2 separate regions of the Homo sapiens genome follow, and region 2 is linked to region 1. Evidence: promoter capture Hi-C in 16 types of primary human blood cells and fetal thymus (Javierre and others, 2016). All regions are on one chromosome and are shown on one strand. The core of a region is centred on a gene start or on the middle of the fragment in contact, and the rest is flanking DNA. Distances in the headings are between cores, read along the strand shown.

Region 1 (5,307 bases), core at 1-2,500:
ATTTGGCCCAGTTTCCCCCTGCATCCTCTCCAGGGCCCCTGCCTCATAGACAACCTCATAGAGCATAGGAGAACTGGTTGCCCTGGGGGCAGGGGGACTGTCTGGATGGCAGGGGTCCTCAGAGATGCCACTGTCACTGCCAGGAGATGCTTCTGAGCAGTACACCTCATTGGGATCAATGAAAAGCTTCAAGAAATCTTCAGGCTCACTCTCTTGAAGGCCCTACAGTAGGAAAAGGTTATATATATGTGCAGGGAAGAATTTTGGAAGTCCTCCCTGACTTATGCTTCATTTTCAGTCCTTTCACTTCTTGGGCATGGAGACAGTTATTATACAACTTACGTCTATTTTGGGGGTGGTCTGTTTTCAGACCTGTCTCCAAGTGGGAGCTGAAGCCTCTTATCACAGAGTTGTGTCTCAACCCCACCCCCACTCCCACTCGTCACACTCACACAGCCACGGTCCCCACCGGACTTCCAGCCTTGCAGTCCCTGTTCCTGTAGCCTAGTTACCGGAACCTCTGGAGGGGGGCAGTGGAGTCCCAGCTCCAGGACGGATCCTGTCGAGAAGATATCCTCTGGGGGCTCCAGCCACGCGTCCAGCAGGTCAGGGATTCCGAGATCCATGCTTCTGCAGGAAGGCGTGTGGGACGGAGGGTTGCAGAAACGGAATGATGGCTGCTTACTACCCCCTACAGTTTCTGGGCTCCTCTGCTCCCTTTTCCATTATCCCCGCCCCCCCACTCCTTCCTCACTAGCAAGCCCCCTCACCTGTCCCCTCGATATTTCACCTTCAGCCCTATCCCTCAGGTTTAGACAAAGAGGCCCCCCCCAAGCATTACCTGTTCTGAAGAGCCCAGCCCTGTCAAGCCAGCATAGCCCGTTGACCTCCCCAAACACTACACCTTTTCTTTCTTCCAGGATCTCGTATCCTGGACCTGCCAGCCAAACCCCGCCCCCAGCCTTACACTACAAAAGTGGATGCCACCTTGCCAGGAGCCACGGTAGGGCCGCTGTATCTGGGAGTAGGGGACTAAGAGTCTGAGGGTCCACAAACGGAATTTAAGAAGTAGGTAGCCGCGCCCTTTCTGCTGCAGTTTTCTCTTAGCTATAGTAAATCTTCCTGAGGGTTTGGTGTCTCCTAGCTGAAGAACAGAAAAGGCTGTGACTGGAGCACAGGACTCCTGAATGCCTGTTCTGTAGCCCTCGCTTTTGCAAGAGGGAGATCATGGCAGGGTTGTAAACAAAGGCGGAAAGAGTCAAGAGACCTGCGAATTTACTAGGGCATCCCCTCGCCCACCGCGTGGCGCTCTTCCCAAAGCTGAGTCCTGATTGGAAGCTGAAGACTTAGGTTTCGGAGGGGCAGGACATCGAGCCAATGGCACACTACCCTCTCAAGGCCGCCTCTTCCGTAACTGGTCGGAGACAGTTTGGCTGTTCAGGAGAGTCAGGCCAATGGGGCCGCAGTTCTTTCTTTTTTTTTTCTTTATTCTTATTTTTGGAGACAGGGTCTCGCTCTGTTGCCCAGGCTGGAGTGCGGTGGTGCGATCACGGTTCCATGCAGCCCCCGACCTCCCGGGCTCAGGTGATTCTCCCGCCTCAGCACCGCGAGCAGCTAGGACCACAGGCGCGAGCCACTGCGTCCGGCCGGCGGGACTTATTTGTCAGGCGGGGATTGGGTTCCGCCAGCCTAAAGGGAGGGGTAAGCGCCAGAATATGAATCGCCGGGAAGCTGGGAGAAAGCTCCGGGAAACCCTGAGCAGCCAGGTTTGTCTTCGCGCGCCACGTGACTCGGAAGCTCCGGTTTCACCCAGGCGGGGAGTCAACAGCCCGCTGACCCCAGTGGAGCGGTGATCCTCGCTCGGCAGGCGGCAGGAGCGCGATGGCGGGTTTCCCCGTCCGCAAGCCGAGCAGTGTGGCGTTAATGGAGAACAGCAGCTGTGCGCACACGCTCGCTGCACGCTGCTCATTCACGGAGGGACACGGGGCAGGAAAACTGCAACAAGTTAAAAAGCCTTTTGCGTTTGTTGTCTTATTGTTTGCATACAGTTACCGGGAACATTATGTCCCACACTTGTATAATTTACAAAACGTTTTCATAAAAATTGTTCTCTTCCTTAATCCATAACAGTTCTGAGGCACACACGGCGGGTAATATTTTGCAAATTTTACCTATGAGGAGGCAGATCCATGACTAGAAAGTAGTAATACCAAAACTCAGGGTTGATTGATTATTTTTATTTTTTTGCCTTGGTCTAATGTCTGATGGTCCAGGAATTCACTTCAAGTAAAACAATGGAGGTAAACTGATACAGGTATGGTTTTCAGTAGTATTTCAGAAAAGGGTAGCTGGGTGAGTAAAACAGTAGTTTGGAGTGTGAATCCCAGAACTCAAACTGCTACTAATTATCCTTATGAAGATTTGAACGGGCTAAGGGTAAAAACGGGAACAGGGTCTAGTCAGGCATTTCCATGTTACTCATATAATTCTTACAGCAGATGGAGCTGACAAGTTTGTTTGTTTGTTTTTCTTTTGCTCTGTGGCCCAGGCTGGAGTGCAGAGGCTCGATCTCGGCTCACTGCAAGCTCCGCCTCCCGGGTTCACGCCATTCTCCTGCCTCAGCCTCCCTAGTAGCTGGGACTACAGGCGCCCAGCTAATTTTTTTGTATTTTTAGTAGAGACAGGGTTTCACCGTGTTAGCCAGGGTGGTCTCGATCTGACCTCGTGATCCGTCCACCTCGGCCTCCCAATGTGCTGGGATTACAGGCGTGAGCCACCACGCCCGTCCGAGCTGACAAGTTTAAGTAACTTTCTCAAGGTTACCCTGTAAGTAGCTGAACCAAGATTTGGATGCTTCAGCCCATGTTCTTCACACTATCAACCCACCTTGTGGGGCTTTCTCAGATTTCTTATCTGTCTTTCCCGCTCATATCTCTCCATCCTGCTCAAGTAGTGAAGAGACAAAGCAGCCTTCCTAGATTGATGCAGAGCTCCAAGGAAAGCAAAGCTGTTCTTGTTGAGATCATTCTGAGAGCGAGAAAGGTGGTTAAATACATTTCAAAGGGCTTCCTGCGGGCTGTATGTGCAGAGATGATTTGAGTGGGGAATGTAGTTAGCTTCCGTTGATGTTAGAACTGGAAGGACCCTCTGCAGTCATCTGCTTGTTTAACTTCCTCCTTGCCCCTGATTTATCAAACTCTGGTGAGGAAAACTGACTTGCCTAAAATCATACATCAAGGTAAGGTAAAATTGAGGAGATCTATTGGGCCGGGTGTGGTGGCTCACACCTGCAGTCCCAGCACTTTGGGAGGCTGAAGCGGGTGGATCACCTGAGGTCAGGAGTTCAAGACCAGCCTGGTCAACATGGTGAAATCCCGTCTCTACTAAAAATACAAAAATTAGCCGGGCGTGGTGGCGGGCGCCTGTAATCCCAGCTACTCGGGAGGCCGAGGCGGGAGAATTGCTTGAAACCTGGGAGGCAGAAGTTGTAGTGAGCCAAGAGCATGCCACTGCATTCCAGCCTGGGCAACACAGCAAGACTCTGTCAAGAAAGAAAGGAGGAAAGAAGAAAGGAAGGAAGGAAGGAAAAAGAAAAGAAATAAAGTTGCCAAGAGATTTTAAATGTTCTCATCACAAATAAATATGTGAAGTAATGCATATGTTAATTAGCTTGATTTACCCATTCTGCAATGTACATATATTTCTTTTCTTTTTTCTTTTTTTTTGAGACGGAGTCTCGCTGTGTCGTCCAGGCTGGAGTGCAGAGGTGTGATCTTGGCTCACTGCAACCTCCGCCTCCCCGGTTCAAGCGATTCTCCTGCCTCAGCCTCCTGAGTAGCTGGGATCATAGGCATGCGCCACCACGCCTGGCTAATTTTTGTATTTTTAGTAGAGACAGGGTTTCACCATGTTGAGCAGGCTGGTCTCCAACTCCTGACCTCGTCATCTGCCCGCCTCGGCTTCCCAAAGTGCTGGGATTACAGGCGTGAGCCACCGCGCCCGGCCCAATGTACATATATTTCAAAACATCATGTTGTACACCATAAATATATACAATTATTAATCATATATGACATATGTATGTGTATAAATAAACAAATATATATATTTGACAACTATAAAGGTAGAACTTGGACCAGAATCCAGGTTTCCTGACCCCCCCAGTCATAATTCCTTGTTAATGTTACCAATTACGAATAATTTTTTTTTTTGAGACGAAGTTTCGCTGTTGTTGCCCAGGCTGGAGCGCAATGGCGCGATCTCGGCTCACTGCAATTTCCGGCTCCCGGGTTCAAGCGATTCTCCTGCCTCGGCCTCCCGAGTAGCTGGGATTACAGGCCCCCGCCACCACGCCCGGCTAATTTTTGTATATTTAGTAGAGACGGGGTTTCACCATGTTGACCAGGCTGGTCTTGAACTTCTGTCCTCAGGTGATTCATCCTCGGCCTTCCAAAGTGCTTGGATTACAGGCGTGAACCACCGCGCCCGGCCCCTTAAGAAGTCTTCACATTCCTCTTTTACTTAAGGAATTACTGGGCTTCGTTTCTGGAGCCTTGTGAGAAGCATTACACTGTCCCCCCTTTTTTTTTTCTTTTTTAAAATTAATTTTCCTGTAGGAAGCAAGATCCCATCTGTCCCTTCTTTAGGCAATGAAGCTTTTTTCACCTTTGCATAAAAGAACAGCTGAGCCCCCTTTTTAAATTTTCTTTTGTCTTACCGTCCCTTGAGGCTAGAAGAGGATTCTCAAGGCACAGAGTTGTGGGCCACAAGAATCCAGGTTGAGGAAACGGTGAAAGTCCTGAGCTGAAACAACTACCTTGGGGCATTCAAGGAACAGCAAACAGCAAACCGACCGGCGAGGGTGGCGGGAGCTGGGCTGGAAATCAGGTGGGAGAACCGGCCAGACGCCCGCAGGCGCGGTACGCAGATATCCTGGAATGCGCTGGGGGCTCTTCCCTGGGCGCGGCTTCAGCACCCCGCATTCCGGTCCCACCACGTCCCCACCCACCTGGAGAAGGCGGAGGCTGCACTGAGTGCCATAAGTAGTCGAGAAGGGATGATTTTCAAGACATACCCTCTCTTTGCTTTCCCCCCTTTCCAATTCTGCCTTGTCTTTTTCCTTGTTGTGGGTGCTGGTGAGGGAAAGCAGTCAAGGAAGTTGGTCCCAAGAGGGGAATGCTTTCCCTTGGGCGCCAAGAGGCACTGACGAGGTGTCAGAGCCTTCTGAGGGACAGATGAGACTTTGGCCCAAGGCCAGGAAGATGTTTTCAGATGTGGGCCGGAAGACTTGACAATGCGGGGTCTCCC
Region 2 (7,742 bases), core at 3,490-5,989, 120 kb after region 1:
ATGTTGCCCAGATCTTGAACTCTTGGCCTCAAGTGATCCTTCCACCTCAGTTTCCCAAAGTGCTGGGATTACAGGTGTGTGCTACCGTGCTCAGTAGACATTTTTAGAAAAAGGAATCCATTGTGTTCAGCTTATTTGTTTTAATTTTTTTAATCTTAAAGTTTTAAATGTTTTTAGTTTTTAAATTTTAAATTGAAAATATTTAAGCATATAGAAAAATAGAGTAGTACGAGCAACAGCTGTGTAACTACCATCTTGTTCAGCAGTGAATATTTTGCCATATTTGCTTGGCACATACCAATATGCTGTTGATATATAGCATAAACATTTTTTCTAAACCACTTCAAAGTAAGTTTTAGACTTTCACCTCTAAATACTTAAGATTGCTGTGGTAGGCAAAATAATGCCCCTTCTCCCAAGATGTCTATACTCCAGCCCCCATAACCTGTGAATATGTTCCGTTTCATGGCAACAGAGAATTAAGATGGCAGATGGAATTAAGGTTGCTAATCAGTTGACCTTAAAATGTGGAAATTATTCTAGATTATCCAGGTGGGCCAATATAATCATAAGGGTCCTAAAGGAGGCAGAAGAGTGTCAAAGAGTTGGCAGTCAGAGGAGTAGGCCTGATACTTGAAGATGAGGAAAGTGGCCATGAACCCAGCAGAGTAGATTGTCTGTAGCAGGGAACAGCAGGACAATGGATTTTCCTCTAGAGACTCCAGAAGAAATGTAGGAGCTGACTGGGCACGGTGACTCATGCCTGTAATCCCAGCACTTTGGGAGGCCAAGGCGGATGAATCAGTTGAGGCCAGGAGTTCGAGACCAGCCTGGGCAACATGGCAAAAACCCATCTTTACAAAAAATACAAAAATTAGCTGGGCGTGGTGATGCGCACCTGTAGTCCCAGCTACTCCCAGTCCCAGAGGCTGAGGTGGGAGAATCGCTTGAGCTGCAGGAGGCAGAGGTTGCAGTGAGCCGAGATCATGCCACTGTACTCCAGCCCAGGTGACAGAGCCAGACCCTGTGTAAAAAAAAAATATATAAAATAAGTAGGAGCCATACTCATACCTTGAATTTAGCCTAATTAGACCCATTTTAGACTTAATGACTTTCTGAATGAAAGGTAATACAATTTGTATTGTGTTTAAGCCACTAAATTTGTGGTAATTTATTATAGCAGCCATAGAAAACTAATAGTAGGCTGGGCTCACGCCCGTAATCCCAGCACTTTGGGAGGGGGAAGGTGGGTGGATCACTAGAGGTCAGGAGTTTGAGACCTGCCTGGCCAACATAGGAAAACCCTGTCTCTACTAAAAATACAAAAATTAGCCGGGCGTGGGGACACCTGTCTGTAATCCCAGCTACTCGGGAGGCTGAGGTGAGAGAATCACTTGAGCCCAGGAGGCAGAAGTTACAGTGAGCTGAGATCTTGCACTCCAGTCTGGGCAACAGAGCAAGACTCTGTCTCAAAAACAACAACAACAAAAAAAAAAAACAAAAAGAAAGCTAATGCTACAGTTACGTTTCAAAAAAATACGGACAATCTCCTATTCAACCACAATACCATTATAACCAACAAGATTAATAATAATTCCCTAATATTATTTAATACTTAGTCCATTTGAAAATTTACCCAGTTCCCCATAGTATCTTTTGTAGCTGTGTTTAAACCAAGATTCAATCAAAGATTATACATTATATTTGATTATGTCTGTAAGTCTCTCTTAACCTAGAACAGTCTGTATCACCACCTCTTTTTTTTTATATCAACTTTTTTGAAGAGACCGTGCTCATTGATTTGAAATATGTTCCACATTGTAGATTTGTCAGATTGTTTCCATGTTAATTGTCTCAATGCCTGCAGTGAAAAGTTTGATCCCTACGGTAAGGTAACAGCAAGATTGTTCCATTGTTAAGATGTGTTTTTCCTTTTGCAATTAGTCGTCTGTGGAGTTATTTTGTTTATATGAACTGAACTAGTTCTTATGAAAATAAATGTTAAATTTCCAGACCAGCATATTTTATAATGGCAGTATAATAGACTATATAACCTAAAACACTTCTGCTATTTCATTACAAAACACCTAGTAATGCTGGATGAAATGTAACAACTATTTTTTAATTTTTAAACAAACTTTTAAAAATGTATAGCTAGTTGAGCCTGAAAGAATTAAGGAAAATTCTCAGGGACTGCAAATGAAAGAGGAACTGAAAATGAGCAGTATGCATGTTACTTAATGCTGTGGTATTTCTGGGTGCTTTGCCTAGTCTCAGTTACTGAAAGGCTTGGTTTTTGTTTGTTTGTTTGTTTGTTTTTTGAGACGGAGTCTTGCTCTGTCGCCCAGGCTGGAGTGCAGTGGCAAGATCTCGGCTCACTGCAAGCTCCACCTCCCGGGTTCACACCATTCTCCTCTCTCAGCCTCCCGAGTAGCTGGGACTACAGGTGCCCACCACCAAGCCCAGCTAATTTTTTTGTATTTTTAGTAGAGACGGGGTTTTACCATGTTAGCCAGGACGGTCTCGATCTCCTGACCTCACGATCCGCCCGTTTCAGCCTCCCAAAGTGCTGGGATTACAGGTGTGAGCCACCGTGCCTGGCCTAAAGGCTTCGTTTTAATGTCCATGAGCCTTAGGCCTGTATGGAACAGAGTTAGAAATGCAAATCTCTATATAAAGCAGGGAGCCTTGAAGGTTCATACTCAAGAGAAAGGAAGGGACCACAGAAAATTCCATCTACTAGTTTGAGGAAACAAGGAAACTTCTGTGTCTCAGCTTGGGCTCTGGCTGGGGGTAGATGGGAATGTCTCCTGAAAATTTATGTTTGGACTCAAGAATATACAATAAGGAAAGGATCAATAGGGCAAGGATAGTCCCTCCAACAAATGTTGTTGGGAAAAGTGGATATCCACAGCAAAATAATGAAATTATCTTGTACTGTACACAAAAATCAACCCAAAATGGATTAAAGAGTTAAACATAAGACCTGAAACTATAAAACTCATAAGAAGAAAACAGGGAAAAAGCATTATGACATTGGTCTTGGCAATGATTTCGTGGATATGACATCAAAAACACAGGCAACAAAAGCAAGTGGAACTGCATCAACCTAAAAAGCTTCTGCACAGCAAACAGCAGAATGGAAAGGCAATCTACAAAATGTGAGGAAATGTTTGTGAACCATATATTTGATAAGGGGTTAATCTCCAACATATGTAAGGAACTCATACAACTCAGTAGCAAAAAATATATGTATATTAAAAAATAGGCGCTTCACTGCCGTCCGTTGATTTATTTCTCCAGGAAGAAAAATGGCATCTGTTGCAGTTGATCCACAACTGAGTGTGATGACTCGGGTGGTCAACCTGCCCTTGATGAGCTCCACATATGACCCCATGTCCTCAGCCCATGTCAGTACAAAGGACCAGTGTCCTACTTGAAGTCTGTGTGTGAGATGGCAGGGAAGGGTGTGAAGACCATCACCTCGGTGGCCATGACCAGTGTGCTCTGCCCATCATCCAGAAGCTAGAGCTGCAAATTGCAGTTGCCAATATCCGTGTCTGTAAGGGGCTAGACAGGATTGAGGAGAGACTGCCTATTCTGAATCAGCCATCAACTCAGGTTGTTGCCAATGCCAAAGGTGCTGTGACTGGGGCAAAAGATGCTGTGACGACTACTGTGACTGGGGCCAAGGATTCATCACAGGGTTGATGGACAAGACCAAAGGGGTAGTGACTGGCACTGTGGAGAAGACCCAAGTCTGTGTCAGTGGCAGCATTAACACAAGCTTAGGAAGTCAGATAATGCAGCTCATGAGCAGTGGCTTGGAACATGCGCTCACCAAATCAGAGCTCTTGGTAGGACAGTACCTCCCTCTCACTGGGGAAGAACTAGAAAAAGAAGCAAAAAAAGTTGAAGGATATGATATGGTTCAGAAGCCAAGTTGTTATGTTAGACTGGGATCCCTGTCTACCAAGCTTCACTCCCTGTCTACCAAGCTTCACTTCGTATGAGCAGGCTCTCAGCAGGGTTAAAGAAGCTAAGCAAAAAAGCCAAGAGACCATTTCTCAGCTCCGTTCTTCTGTTCACTTGATTGAATTTGCCAGGAAGAGTGTGCATAGTGCCAATCAGAAAATTCAGGATGCTCAGGATAAGCTCTAGCTCTCATGGGTGGAGTGGAAAAGGAATATTGGATACGATGATACTGATGAGTCCCACTGTGCAGAGCACATCGAGTCACGTACTCTTGCTATTGCCTGCAACCTGACTTAGCAGCTCCAGACCACATGCCACGGCCTTCTGTCCAACATCCATGATGACCACAGAACATCCAAGGTCAGGCCAAGCATATGAGGGTGATGGCAGGCGACATCTACTCAGTGTTCTGCAATGCTGCCTCCTTTGAGGAAGTGTCTGACAGCCTCCACTTCTAGCAAGGGGCAGCTGCAGAAAATGAAGGAATCTTTAGATGACTTGATGGATTTCTTGTTAACAACATGCCCCTCAACTGGCTGGTAGGTCCCTTTCACCCTCAACTGACTGAGTCTCAGAATGCTTAGGACCAAAGTGCAGAGATGGACAAGAGCAGCCAGGAGGCCCAGCGATCTGAGCACAAAACTCATTAAACTTGCCCCTGTCACCAGTGAATGATGCGGCCAGCCAGTTAACACCTTTCGTTATGTTGAAATTAACCCTGCTAGGCAACCCTAAATTGGGAAGCAAGTAGCTAGTAAAAAGGCCCTCAATTATAGTTATTTCCAGCTGGATTAAGAGCTTTAAAGTTTCTGGCTTTAGCAGATGATTTCTGTTCACCTGGTAAGAAAAGAATGCTAGGCTTGTTAGAGCCTAGCCAGAACTCACAAAAAATTCAAGTGCACTTATGTTCTCATTCTGTGGCCATTGTGTTACCCTCTGTTACTGTTTGTGTTGAATAAAAACATCTTCATGCGGGCTGGGGTAGAAACTGGTGTCTGCTCTGGTATGATCTGAGCAGGCCTCTTTACTGATTTATCTCATGATGATTGCTTGTACAACTTGATTTTAGTTTTTTATTTCTCAAATAGGAATACTACCTTTGAATTCAATATAATTCACTGTAAGATTAAAAAAAAAATGGACAAAGGACCTGAATAGACATTCTCCAAAGAAGACATAAAAGTGGCCAAGTATATGAAAAATTGCTCAACATTGCTAATCATCAGAGAAGTACACATCAAAACCACAATGAAATATCATCACTTCACACCTGTCAATGTCAAGATGGCTATTTTTTTTAAGTGGCAAGGGAGTGAAGAAATTGGAACCCTTGCACACTGTTGGTGGGAATGCAAAATGGTACAAGCGGCCACTATGGAAAACAGTATGGAGGTTCCTTGACATATTAAATATAGAACTACCAGATGGTCTAGCAATCATGCTTCTAGATATTTATCCAAAATAAAATCAGGATCCCAAAGAGTGACAACATGGATGAAGCTTGAGGACATTATGCTAAGGGAAATAATACAGTCACAGAAAGATAAATAACTATGTGAGTCTACTTATGTGAGGTATCTAGTCAGATTCATAGGTTGACAGAGTCAAATGGTGGTTGCCAAAGGCTGAGGGGGAGGAGAAATTGGGGAGTTGCTAAACAATGTATGTAAAATTAATGTCAAACGGGAAAAAGCTCTAGAGATCTGCCATACAACACTGTACCTATAGTCAACATTAATGTATTGTACACTTGAAAATTTGTTAAGAGGGTAGATCTTGTGTTAAGTGTTTTTACCACAATAAAACAAAAAAAAACTTTTTTTTTTTTGAGGTGGAGTCTTGCTCTGTCACCCAGGCTGTAGTGTAGTGGCGCGTTCCCGGCTCACTGCAACCTCCGCCTCCTAGGTTCAAGCGATTCTCCTGCCGCAGCCTCCTGAGTAGCTGAGATTATAGGCGCACACCACCACGCCTGGCTAATTTTTGTTTATTTAGTAGAGACGAAGTTTCACTATGTTGGCCAGGCTGGTCTCAAACTCCTTCACCTCAAGCAATCCGCCTGCGTAGGCCTCCCAAAGTGCTGGGATTACAGGTGTGAGCCACCGCACCTGGCCAACAAACAATTTTTTAAAAATTAAGTATGGGCTTATTAGGCTGAGCGCAGTGGCTCACACCTGTAATCCCAGCATTTTGGGAGGCTGATGTGGGCGGATCACTTGAGGTCAGGAGTTCGAGACCACCCTCGCCAACATAGTGATACCTGGTCTCTACTGAAAATACAAAAATTAGCTGGGTATGGTGGCGGATGCCTGTAATCCCAGCTACTCAGGAGGCTGAGGCAGGAGGATCACTTGAACCCGGGAGGTGAAGGCTGCAGTGAGCCAAGTTTGTGCCACTGCATTGCAGCCTGGGCAACAGAGTGAGACTCTGTCCTAAAAAGGAAAAATAATTAAGTATGGGCTTATTTGTGTGGGTTTAAATTATTATCACCAGCTTGGTCTGAGATCCCCAAACTGGGAAATGAATATAAAAAAATTATTCAGGACCCTGTATAATACCCTTGGGGTAACCAGCGGAAGCATATGTAAAGCTACTCTGGAGGAACAGATCCACAGTTTAAGCCACACAGGATTCTAACAGATAAAATCCCACTGAATAACCCACTTGATTGTGACAAGGCTCATAATCAAAAGTGACAAAAAATAAGAAAACAGCTCATTTACCATGAATAAGAGTCACAGATACACTACCTCTCAGGACTAGATCTCCAGTTCATTGACTATAGACCATAGAATAAGTGCATTTAAAAGGATTAAATACAGCCAGGCATGGTAGCTCATGCCTGTAATCCCAGCACTTTGGGAGGCCAAGCCAGGCGGATCACCTGAGGTCAGGAGTTCAAGACCAGCCTGGCCAACATGGTGAGACCTAACCTCTGCTAAAAATACAAAACATTAGCTGGGTGAGGTGGCACATGTCTGTAATCCCAGCTACTCAGGAGGCTGAGGCAGGAGAATCGCTTGAAACCGGAAGGAGGGGGTTGCAGTGAGCCAAGATCACGCCACTGTACTGCAGCCTGGGTGAAAGAGTGAAACTGTCTCAAAAAAAGAAAAAACAAGGTCAAATTTAAAATATATTTGGAAGGTAATGCTGATAGAGTTTACAGATAGAATGCATGTGGGTATGAGAAAGAGGAACTAAGAATGACTCCAAGTGTTTGGTTTGAATAGTGGTGTCATTTGCTAAGATGTGTAACAGTAGGGGAAGAAACAATTTTGGACATAAGATTATAAAATGCCTGTTAGATATCTGCTATCTTGTGAATGTTTGTCCCTCCAAAATTCATGTTGAAATTTAATTGACATTGTAATAATATTAAGAAGTGGGACCTTTAAGAAGTGATTAAGTTGTTAGGGCTTTACCCTCATGGGTGGGATTAATGTTGTTATAAAAGGGCACCCTCTCTTTGCCATCTGCTATGTTATTAGATGGCAAGAAGGTCTTCACCACATGCCAGTACCTTGATGTTAGGCTTCCCAACTTCTGGAACTGTGTGCCAATAAATAGCCAATAAACTTCTGGTCATTATAAAGTGCCCAAAGCTGGGTACGGTGACATACACCCATAGCCCCAGCTACCTGGGATGCTGAGGTGGGAGGATCATTTGAGCTCAAGGAGTTTGGCAACATGGAGAGACTCCATCTCTAAACAAAACAAAACAGAACACACACACCCACATACCCCTATATAAATTACCCAGTCTGGGGGAG

The links. Contacts are between HindIII fragments. The CHiCAGO score rates a contact against its expected background, and 5 or more counts as called.
Region 2: a contact is called between a fragment that was not itself captured here and the fragment with the promoter of CREB3L4 in region 1, in 15 of 17 cell types (total B cells, naive B cells, monocytes and 12 more). The highest score is 14.5, in total B cells.

Annotation. Positions count from the first base shown.
Region 1 is chr1:153,963,845-153,969,151 of GRCh38, reverse strand. It overlaps CREB3L4 (cAMP responsive element binding protein 3 like 4), which reads right to left and starts at 1,250. Exons shown (of 10, transcript NM_001255978.2): 1 at 988-1,250; 2 at 453-630; 3 at 1-222. The coding sequence starts at 626. It also overlaps a transcript of SLC39A1 not described here. RefSeq lists enhancers at 984-1,103, 1,134-1,243, 1,454-1,673, 1,108-1,964, 5,239-5,307 and 1 more and a silencer at 992-1,493. The HindIII fragment of the contact is 4,469 bases long and covers 189-4,657 here.
Region 2 is chr1:153,848,982-153,856,723 of GRCh38, reverse strand. The region is part of intron 1 of GATAD2B (GATA zinc finger domain containing 2B); the gene reads left to right. It also overlaps the pseudogene LOC645965. Among named protein-coding and RNA genes, the nearest start is that of GATAD2B, 70 kb to the left of the region's middle. The HindIII fragment of the contact is 1,477 bases long and covers 4,001-5,477 here.